2 separate regions of the Homo sapiens genome follow, and region 2 is linked to region 1. Evidence: promoter capture Hi-C in human tissues and cell types (Jung and others, 2019). All regions are on one chromosome and are shown on one strand. The core of a region is centred on a gene start or on the middle of the fragment in contact, and the rest is flanking DNA. Distances in the headings are between cores, read along the strand shown.

Region 1 (4,946 bases), core at 782-3,281:
AGGGAGGGATTTGTGTTTAATTCCTGCCGCTATTCAGAGGGAAAAGAAAATAAAGGGACCAAAGGCAACCAGAAAGCAGTTTACCTCAAGCCTTTATTATTGTAGATTGAAAGAAGTTTATATACAGGAAATATTTCCAGCAAAACACTCACCAAATGGCCTTCGAATCAGGGGCCCTCCACCTCCCAGCCCCACAATCAGCAGCTCTGCCTAGGACTCCCCTCACTTGGGGACCTCAGGCTCTCCCCCCACCTCTCTTTCCCCGGACTCCATCACCCCAACGTCATTCCCCAGGAGTCTCAGCTTTTTCTCTCTCCCTGGGGCGCTGCGAACCTCGCCAATGCCTCTCAAGCTATCTTCCTCTGGTCCCAAAGCAGACACCCCAACTTCCCTCCCATTTAAGGTGGTTACCTCACGGAAACCCAGAGCACCCTCCCCCTCAAGGTTTAGGTGCTGCTTTGAGGCCCCTGCAATTCAGAACTAGCTCGTGGTCAAGACCAGTTAGAGATAGTTCGTCATCAGCAGTGGGGCTCCTGTGCACCCAAAACAAGCGGGGGAAACTACCCTGCCCACCCCTCCCCATCCACGACATCACTTCCCCTACCAGGGACAGGAAACAGACACAAAAGCAACAGGGAACCCCCTCTCCGCGCGCGACAGGTGGGTGCCAGGCAACTAGCTCAGCTGAGCTGAGAGTCTCCTGGAACCCAGCTGCGCTCAGGGCGCGCGGGCGTGGCCAAGGTCTCTGTGCAGCTGCGGGAAGCACCGGGCCAAAGCACTTGGCTGAGGGCACGCTGGGGAGGGGGTGTAAGAAAATGCTGTAGAGGCAAAGTCCTGGGGGCACACGGACAAGGGCAAGCCATATCCCGCGCTCAAAAGAGGATTTCCAGTGAGCCAGGCAGGTGTGAATGAGACAGTTACAGAAGCAGAGTCCCAGGGAGGTAGGGGAGATTGTTCATGTGGCTGAGGGTGCAGACTCAGTCTGAAATGGTGGCTCAGCACATCAGTGTCACTGGGGCCTCGCCAAGCGTGACTTGGTTTGAGGCGCTTGCACGTGGGCTTCGAAGGCTCGAAGGCCCAGCCCACCAAGTTCAGTCAATTGTCCGTTGGATGTTTACACCCTCCGGGGCCGAGCGCCGTGCAGTTGCTCATCATAGCGTTCCAACCAAGTGCGCAGCTCAGAGACCTGGTAGCCGTCGGGGCCACGGCCGCCCTGGTACATAATAGTGCCACTCTGGATGACATAGAGACGCTCGAAGTAGGCGCCATAGGCCGAGCTGCTGGAGTTGGCCATGGTGTCGAGGACCAGAGCGCAGCCGGGTGCACCTTGCTGCAGTACCCTCGCTGCGCTGACCCGGTCCTCCAGGCTCCGGTGCTGTGGGATGATGTAGGGAGAGTCCGTGGTGACCCAGCCGTCGGAGGGGTGCGCTTCCTCGATGTAGATGATGAGGAAGTCGACGTCGCGCTGGTACTTAGTGACCAGGCGCTGGAAGGCGCTCATGCGCGCCATGAACGGTGGTCAGGTGCAGCTGCCGAAATTGAGAACCAGCGGGCGGTTCCCTTGCGCGTAGTCGAGGATGTGCTGGCTCTGGAAGCCGTCGGGCAGAACCACCTCGGAGTTGGGCGCCGGACCGCCCTCGTGCGCCTGCTTGAAGAAATCCAACTTCTGGCCATGCCACACCGCCTTGAGCGACGCCAGGGTGCACAGGCGGTTGTCGTCGGACACGCAGATGGGCGGGTCATCGGGAGGCACCTCCTCGCCTTCACTGTTGAGCTCCACTTCGGGCTCGGGCTGCCCCCGGCGGCGGCGGCCCAGGAAATGCTTGCGGATACACAAGAAATCGAGAAGCCAGAGCATGAAGGCCGTGCCGAGGAAGCGCGGGAAGAGCACGAGGCACGAGGCGGTCTGGGCGCAGAGCCTCAAGGAGTGAAGCAGCAGGGAGCGGAGCATGGTGGCTGCAGGCCCCGAAGCCCCCTGGGACCCCTCGCCCTCTCCGACCACCAACCGCGACGTGGCCTGGCGAGGCATCTGGGCTTCAGCAGTGCAGGGAGTTCAATTTATAGCGGAGGCTTCAATTGGCGGGAGACTCCACCTCCGGCCCGGCCCGCCCCCTTGCAACTTGAGCCCGGAGGGATCACCCAGCAGCGCGGCCAATGCCCTAGAAATCTTGGGCTGAGGGCGGGCGCAGGCGGGCGGAGGGCGGAGCGGCCGGGCCTGGGGCCGGTGGGGGCGGGCCCGGGCCCCGCAGCCAGCTCTCGGGGGCGGGGGACTCCGGCAGCCGCTGCCGCTGGGGACCGGGAGCCCGACCAGGGACCTGGGCGTCCGCTGGGGAGGTCCTCCAGCTGGCGCGAGCGCTGCGCGCCGCCCTGGTCCCCGCCGCCTGGCTCCGGCCCGCGCCCCCCTCGCCGCGCACCTGAGCCGAGCTCCCCGGCGGCCGCCGAGCCGCGCCGGAGCTCCGGTTCGCTTCCCGCGCGCCGCCGCCAACGCCGCCCACGCCGCTGCCGCTCGTGCGGGGCCGCTGCCCAGGTGCCGCGGGAGGCCGGGTCCGCGGCCGCCGCTTCGGTGGCCCCGGCTCCCGCCCCACCGAGGACGCGGGCCAGCGAGGAGGCAACTTTGCGTTCCCGCCGCCTTCCTGGCTCGCCCGCGGGCGCCGCTCGCCTGCCGGAGCCCGCCCGCCCGCCTCCCGCGCGCGCTCACACTCGCGCCTCGCACACGGCCGCCCCCCGCACCGCCCCGCCACGCACACCGCGCTCCGCGCCCCCCGCCGCTGCCCGAGGCTGCCGCGCGCCGCCCCAGCCCGCGCCGCCCTGGCCGCGCCCGCCCCGTCCCATCTCGTTCCAGCGGGGCGCCGCGGTTCCTGGGTCAGCGGCCGCCGGGGCCGGGCTGAGAGGTGCGGAGGGCAGAGCCCGCGGGCGGGTTACCGCCGGGCGCCGGAGACCGGAGAGCTGGGGAAAGCGGCGCCGGCCCTGCGCCCCCAGCCGACCCGGGCGCGGGGCGCCACGGGCGTGGGGCGCGGGGCAGCGGGCGCGGGGCGGCGCCGGCCCCGGGCGGCTCTCCCACTAGGGGTAGCTGTTGCCTGAACGCCGGAGCGCTCCCCTCTCGCCGCTTGCCTCGCCCAGCGCAGCCCCGGCCGCTGGGCGCACCCGTCCCGTTCGTCCCCGGACGTTGCTCTCTACCCCGGGAACGTCGAGACTGGAGCGCCCGAACTGAGCCACCTTCGCGGACCCCGAGAGCGGCGGCGCGACTCACCGCGGAGGCGCCCGGACGCGTCAAGTGCGTACTTTCAACCGTAAATGGGTGCTGAGCGTTTAGGGGTGCGGGGCAACTCCCTAACTCGTGGGGCCCTGGCCGGCCCTGCCGCGGCGTCCGAGACCTTCTGATCCCTCGCTGCGCGCGGCGCGGGGTTGGCGACTTGGGCTCAGGGGCGGCGGGGCGGGGAGGTGCCTTGACCTAGGGACCCAGAGGCCGGGAGCAAGTCTCCTTTCGCCTTGGACTGCAGTGTCCCCCAGGGCAAGGCCTGAACCAGGTCGCGAGGGTCTGTCTCCCGTCTGGGGAGCTGAACTGCCCGAGACACTGTCGCAGTCGCGGGGACTTGTCTGGAGCGGCGGGGTCTGAGCCCAAGTCGGAAGCCGCCGCCGCCGCCAGCGTCCCGTGCGCCTGCCGCCCCGGGACCAGCCGCGAAACTTCTTCTCGGGACGGAGACAGCGCTCGCCGCCCGGGCCGAGGTAGGAGCTGGCTGGGCTCGGTAGAGCGCGGGCGAATCGCTTTCGGCAGCGAAGGAACGTGTCGGGAGAAGCCAACTGCAGGACCAGGGCCCCAGCGGGCGCGCAGAGACGCCTGCCTTGGGCGGAGGTCCCCCCCTCCGGTTTTCGTGGCTCTGGTAGGGCCCTCTGTCCCGTGAGCTCCTCACTGGACCTGAGGCTACAGGCTTCAGCAGGTCAAGCGCCCGAGTGTGCCTGGAGGATTGGCGGCGGGGTGGCATGAGAAGGTGGCCCCTCTTCTCCATCTCCCAGTCAGGCGATTTCTCTGCTGTCTGGGGCAGGGGCGCACACCCCAGGAACTTACTACGTAGAGGGAAGCCAGCCTGGTCTCTCCCCCTTGCGTCAGTGCTCCTAAGCTGCCCCTCACCACTCTGGGTAGGGGTCTTTCAGGTGGGCTAGGGAATTCTCCTTGGAAGTCCCCTTGTTTGCTCCCCTCCATCAGGGCACCTCTGAGTTAGCCAATCATCCTCTTTTCTGGCCTCTTTTTTGCGGGGAGGAGAGTAGAGAGAGAAGCCTCCTACTCGGCAGGTCTCTGAGAGGAGGTTTGGGGGGGCTTCTGAGGTTGCTCCTCCTGGGCAGAGTCAAGGGGTGTTGAGGGTTCCAACTTTTACTGGACAATCTCTCAAGCTCTGATTCCCTGATTTCTGGGAGGTGTCAGTGTAGGGCTTGTGTCCTGCCCCACCCACACAGCATTTGGTGCAGGCACATGGGATGGTTCCCCAAGCCCTTTTCCCACAGTTAGTTTCAGAAAATGCATAAGCCACCTAAGGCTGGGAGAGCCTTTCTGTGCTGGCTGAGATCTGGTGGCATGTGCATGCATATGTGTGCAAGTGTGTGTGTGTGTGTGCAAGTGTGTGTGCGCATGTGCATGTGTGTGGAAAGTATGGTCTGGGTGGCTGTAAGACTGGCCCCTCTTGTCCCCTCTGCAGGCCCAGCCCAATAGGAAGCACCTGATCCACACTCTTTCTAGCCCCAGGGATGCTCAGGAAAGCAGCCTTTCTTTAGGGCTGTCATCTGTTCTGGGGATCTGTTGCTGTTTCTTGGGCCCACAGAATACACTCCACACCTCGGGACTCCATAATATTGGACAAGGCTGGAAGGCCCATTTGGCTCCTGCAGCCTCTTATGCAGGTGAGGACAGACCCAAGGTCCAGGCAATGCTGGCCTTTGGAACACAGAACCTG
Region 2 (4,777 bases), core at 772-3,271, 72 kb before region 1:
GGATTGCCTGCTTACTCCTTCTAGGGCCAGGGAAGCTGGGCTGGAGGAAGCTGTCTGGGAGCCCAGGAGGCAAGCAGAAAACCGCCAGGACCGCCCCACGCTGGGGGAGCAGCAGGCACGGCCCCTACCAACACCCCCTGGCACCTCGCAAAGCTAGAGCCCGCCCGGTCCCCTCCCCGGAGCGCCCTGGTCTTTGGTTCGTATTCAGCACATCTTCAGAAACAGTGATAGAAAAATGCTGGTTTCTGACTCCACCAGCTCACGGAGGAGATGCCAGCTCACGGAGGAAAATCTGGAAGGTGTTGAAGCATAGACGCTGGAACATAAAATGACTCATGATCTCACTGGGAGAAGGGCTGGGAACATCGTGGGCTCTCTTCTCCCCGCGCTCCTCTCTCCGGGTCTCTGTTTCCCTCATTCCACGATGTTTAGTGAGTACCTGCAGAGGGGGCTTCCCGGGATGCAGGGCTCAGGGCAGGGGTGGGGGCGAGCGTGGGCGAGGCAGAGCGGGCGAGCGCGGGCTGGGAAGGGCGCCCCTGGCGGGCGGCCCGGGCATAAAGGCTTTTGAGCTGGCCTCGCGGGCAAGGCAGGAGGACTGCCTGGGGGAGGCGGCCATACGCCCACCCTAGAGGAAAGCGGCCACCAACGCTGAGGGTCCGGCCCCCACTGACCCTCTGAGACCGAGCCGCCTCGTGTACCAGCGAGGCCACCCGCGCACCTGGCTTGGGCTCCCAGCCCCGCGCCCCTCCACGTCGGAGGCGCAACACCTGTACCCGAGCCTCGGACTCTGAGAACGTCTGGCCTTTAGATAGGCCTCGCGCTCCCAGCGCTGGGGAGTCCTGCATCCCCTAACCGGTGTCTCTCCCGGATGCAATGGAGGTGAACCCCTGGGGTCTCGCGGATCCCGAGTTCAAAGCGACCACAGACTGCTCTGCTTCCAGGACATCCCCTTGGACACCCTCCTCCCCCGCCCAGGCAACCCAAAACCAGCATGTCCCCAGACACACTCCCCTAGACACACTCCGCAACGCCCCAGACCTGCTCCCCACTGAGTCCTCTGTATCCAGGAACCATCGGCGCACTACATCAGACTAGAGGTCTGGGGTCACCCGACCATCCCGCCACAAGCCCCTCCGAGGCATCACTGTGTCCAGATTTTGCAAACTGCACCTCCTGAAGGGGCTGGGGTCTGTCCACTTCGCCCCATCTGCCGTGGCAGCACTTCCTCCGTGGTTCGCACCCCCACAGCAGCCTCCTGGGAAGGCACCTCCCTGGGGCCCCTCTCAGTCCACGGTGTGGATATGGTGAGTTCTTAAACCATGAACTTCTGATTTCACAGCTCTGCTTGAAGCCTTCAATGTCAGGCTTCCTGTTGCTCTTAAGATAATGATCAAAACTCTCAACAAAGTTCCCCTGATAAATGCTCTCAACGTGCCCCCCACCACAGCATCCCTAACTGTAATGAATACATCATTGGTCCTCACGGCAGCGGATTAATCGTCTGTGAGTGTTGGTTTAATCTTTCTCTTCTGGAGTTTAGCTGTCACTGCCATATCCCCAGCACGGAGCACAATGACATGTTTATATGTAGAAAATTGAGCGAAAAATAAAAACAGCTAACATTTGGGTACTTATTATCTTCCAGGCAGCAAGCTATGCATTTTGCATATATTAGCAAATCCATGAGGCAGGTGCTGTCTTCATTGTACAGGTGAGGAGCCTGAAGCTCAGAGAGGTGAAGGAACATCCTCAAGGCCACGCTCTGAAATCAACAAAAGATACATCAGTTTATTGTGGGAAACATCAGAACATGCAGAGATATTAACAAAGAGAAGTCACTCAGAGATGACTGTCATTAACATTTTGGTGTATTTCTTCGTAGACATTTTCCTATGTCTCTGCATAGTAACATACTGTCCAGAGTGCTTGTAATCTGCTAGACGGTTTGATGAGACCAAGTTTTCATGGTATTAGCCACGGCAATATTTGTATTCATATTTTAGGGTATGGCTGAACTGAAATTTGCTTTTGCTCAACTCAGCCCCTCTTGTGAACATTAGGCACTTTGCACTTCACCTGCTGAAAACGTGGTAGTCATAAACACGCTGGTAGCTCAATCGTCCCACCTATCTTTACTATGTTATTCATTCCTAGCAGTGGGGCCTGGGTCAAAAGTTCTGCAGGGTTTTAAGGCTTTGGATCAGTGGTTCGGGATTGTCCTCTGGGACGGGCTGAGAAGCACACATGCCTGCCGGTGGTGACAAGCATTCCTTCCTAGTGCAGAGTCAGGTCTGCACCTGGCACCCCCTACCCATCCAGGTTGGGTCCCTGGCATTCAGTTATGTGGAACAGACCAGAAAAATTAAAAAAGAACCCCCTCCCGCATCTTCCCCGAAGGACCACTGGCCTGCTGTCTCTCCCCGCACTCCCCCACTGGAGTTCATACCCACTGAATCACGACCCCCTTGTGGCTAAGCCCTGGTGCGCCACCCTGCAAAATCAAAGGTGGTGTCTAGGCACAGAAATGGCTCCGTGACCTATGTCCCCTTTGTTCTAATCTAGAATCCAGCCAGGAGTATGCGTGTCAGAAGCCAGGGGTGATTGTGTTTTTTCTCCTTCCTCTTTCTTTAGGTCAGGAAGATTCCTGCAGCTGCTGAGTTAGTACTTTTAAGAAAGTACTGGATTCCCTCTCACAATGGGACTTTGATTTTTTTAAGAAAAAGGTTTCATAAGTTTTCAAATAACCTGGAGCAGTTGAGCAAACTTAATGTGCAGCGTGGTCCCTGCTGGCTGGGTTTGAGGGGCTGGGTCTCTCTGAGTGGATGCTGGTGAGGTGCAGAGGTGAGTGAAGGCTTATCCGGGAATGGAGGAGAAGGGGACAGCCTGGGGAATAAAAAAGAACTTTCCGTGAGACGCTGTACCTCAATGCTAGATAATGCCAGGCTGGGCTTTTGCTAGTCTTAAAAACTACATCACGCATGTTATAGGCAAAGGCCGGCAGCCCCTCCCAGGGAAAGCCCTTTGTTTGAGTCCATAGAGACCCCCTATTGCAAGGGCCCCTTTCGTGATTTTTGAGGGGTCTGCAGGAAAAGAGGGCAGAGGTCGTAGTTTGGGGATCGCTGGTGACCATGCACCAACTTTTTTGTTGTTTCCATCTCAGGAAGAAGAAAAGGTGCCTGAGGGCCTGTGTGGAAGGCCTGTCACACAGCACATCCTGGGAAATCTGTCCAGGAAGCAGCCAGGCGGGCATCAGCCAGGCGGGCATCAGCATCTTCACTGTGCAGATGAGAAACTGAGGCCGCAGAGGTGAAGGGACATGCCCAGGATCACTAAGGCAAGACGGGGGAAGAGCAGAGATCTTGGGCATGATCTCGGCTCACTGCAACCTCCACCTCCCAGGTTCAAGGGATTCTCCTGCTTCAGCCTCCCAAGGAGCTGGGATTACAGGTGCCCGCCACCACGCCCGGCTAATTTTTGTATGTTTAGTAGAGACAGGGTTTCACCATGTTGGCCAGGCTGGTCTCGAATTCCTGATCTCAAGTGATCCGCCTTGCTCTGTCCCTTAGGGACCTCAGCTTAGTGTTCCACACACTGGCAGATCGCCTCGTTCTTCTCAGGGCTCAGTGTTTTCCTGAGTCTGAACCACGATCTGGGTAGCCATCCCCTGGCGAGGACCATTCGGGGTTCCAGCAGTCACATGCCACGGTAAACAAGCTTCGTAAACATCCCACGACAAAGGTGGGAGAGAATCCCAGTAGGGACAATGACTACAGGTGGAATTGCTGGGAAAAAGTATGTCGGTTTTAAGTGTTGATAACTGGTCCTTTATTGGTCGTGGTCATTCATTCTTCTGCCAGGCGGGGCTGGTGTTCCTATATCCTCTCCTCACCAACAGAGCGTCTTATGTTTATTTGTTGGCAACGTGGCAGGTGAAACATGTACCCTGTCATTAAAAAAAATTATACTTGGCTGGGCACGGTGGCTCACACCTGTAATCCCAGAGCTTGGGAAGCTGAGGTGGGTGGATTGCTTGAGGCCCGGAGCTCGAGGCTAGCTTGGGCAGCACAACGAGACCCTGTTTCTACAAAAAATACAAAAATTAGTGGGGTGTAGTAGTGCACGCCTGTAGTCCCAGCTACTGGGGAGGCTGAGGTGGGAGGATCACTTGAGCCTGTCTCAGAACAAACAAACAAACAAACAAAAATAAGAAAAAAATACATAGTTTTAAAACAGTTTTAAACACATTTGGGAAAATATAGGCAGTAGAAATAGCAGTTGTGCTGTTAATGCCTCAGACAGGGCTGGGCTCGTAGTAGGTGCTCAATAAATATGTATTAAGTAAGTGAATAAGGAAGAAAATCCCATGGCTCTGCCAACAAGAAACACTTCTGTCAACATTTCACTGTGTTTGTTTTCCTGAGTATTTTTTCCTCTACATAATTTAGCTTTGTTTTCCATTCATTATGCTCACCCGTGCAGACACAGTTTTTAATCTTGTTTCTTTTTTTTCACTTCACGTTGTTGACATGTGTGTTTCTCTCTTCTAAGCAGCGTTTCAGCATCTCTATAAAACCCTCACAGGTATGTGAACCATAGATCATTTGAATCGTCTATTGTGCTTTTAGGCTGTTTTCAATTTTTCTTTTTATAAATGATGCAGCAGAGTATCTTTATGCAGAGACCGTTTCCATACTTCCCCCTGTGCAGAAGGAAAAGTAGGCAGAAGAAAGATTAACTTGGTCAAAGCTTTTAAAATCTGATTTAATACTTCTTAAGA

Evidence for each region. The method cuts DNA at HindIII sites, captures the fragments that hold promoters and counts their contacts. A contact is called where the count stands out against the background at its distance.
Region 2: a contact is called between a fragment that was not itself captured here and the fragment with the promoter of DIO3 in region 1, in 2 of the 25 tissues and cell types used here (mesendoderm cells and pancreas).

The regions. Positions count from the first base shown.
Region 1 is chr14:101,558,580-101,563,525 of GRCh38, reverse strand. It overlaps DIO3 (iodothyronine deiodinase 3), which reads right to left and starts at 2,031. Exons shown (of 1, transcript NM_001362.4): 1 at 74-2,031. The coding sequence starts at 2,029. The coding sequence ends at 1,115. It overlaps DIO3OS (DIO3 opposite strand upstream RNA), which reads left to right and starts at 3,104. Exons shown (of 2, transcript NR_152588.1): 1 at 3,104-3,274. It overlaps MIR1247 (microRNA 1247), which reads left to right and starts at 3,104; the gene lies at 3,104-3,239. The HindIII fragment of the contact is 20,870 bases long and covers 1-4,946 here.
Region 2 is chr14:101,630,970-101,635,746 of GRCh38, reverse strand. It overlaps LINC02320 (long intergenic non-protein coding RNA 2320), which reads left to right. Exons shown (of 6, transcript NR_184269.1): 2 at 259-431; 3 at 1,068-1,304; 4 at 2,632-2,841; 5 at 3,161-3,334. Among named protein-coding and RNA genes, the nearest start is that of DIO3, 72 kb to the right of the region's middle. The HindIII fragment of the contact is 8,632 bases long and covers 1-4,777 here.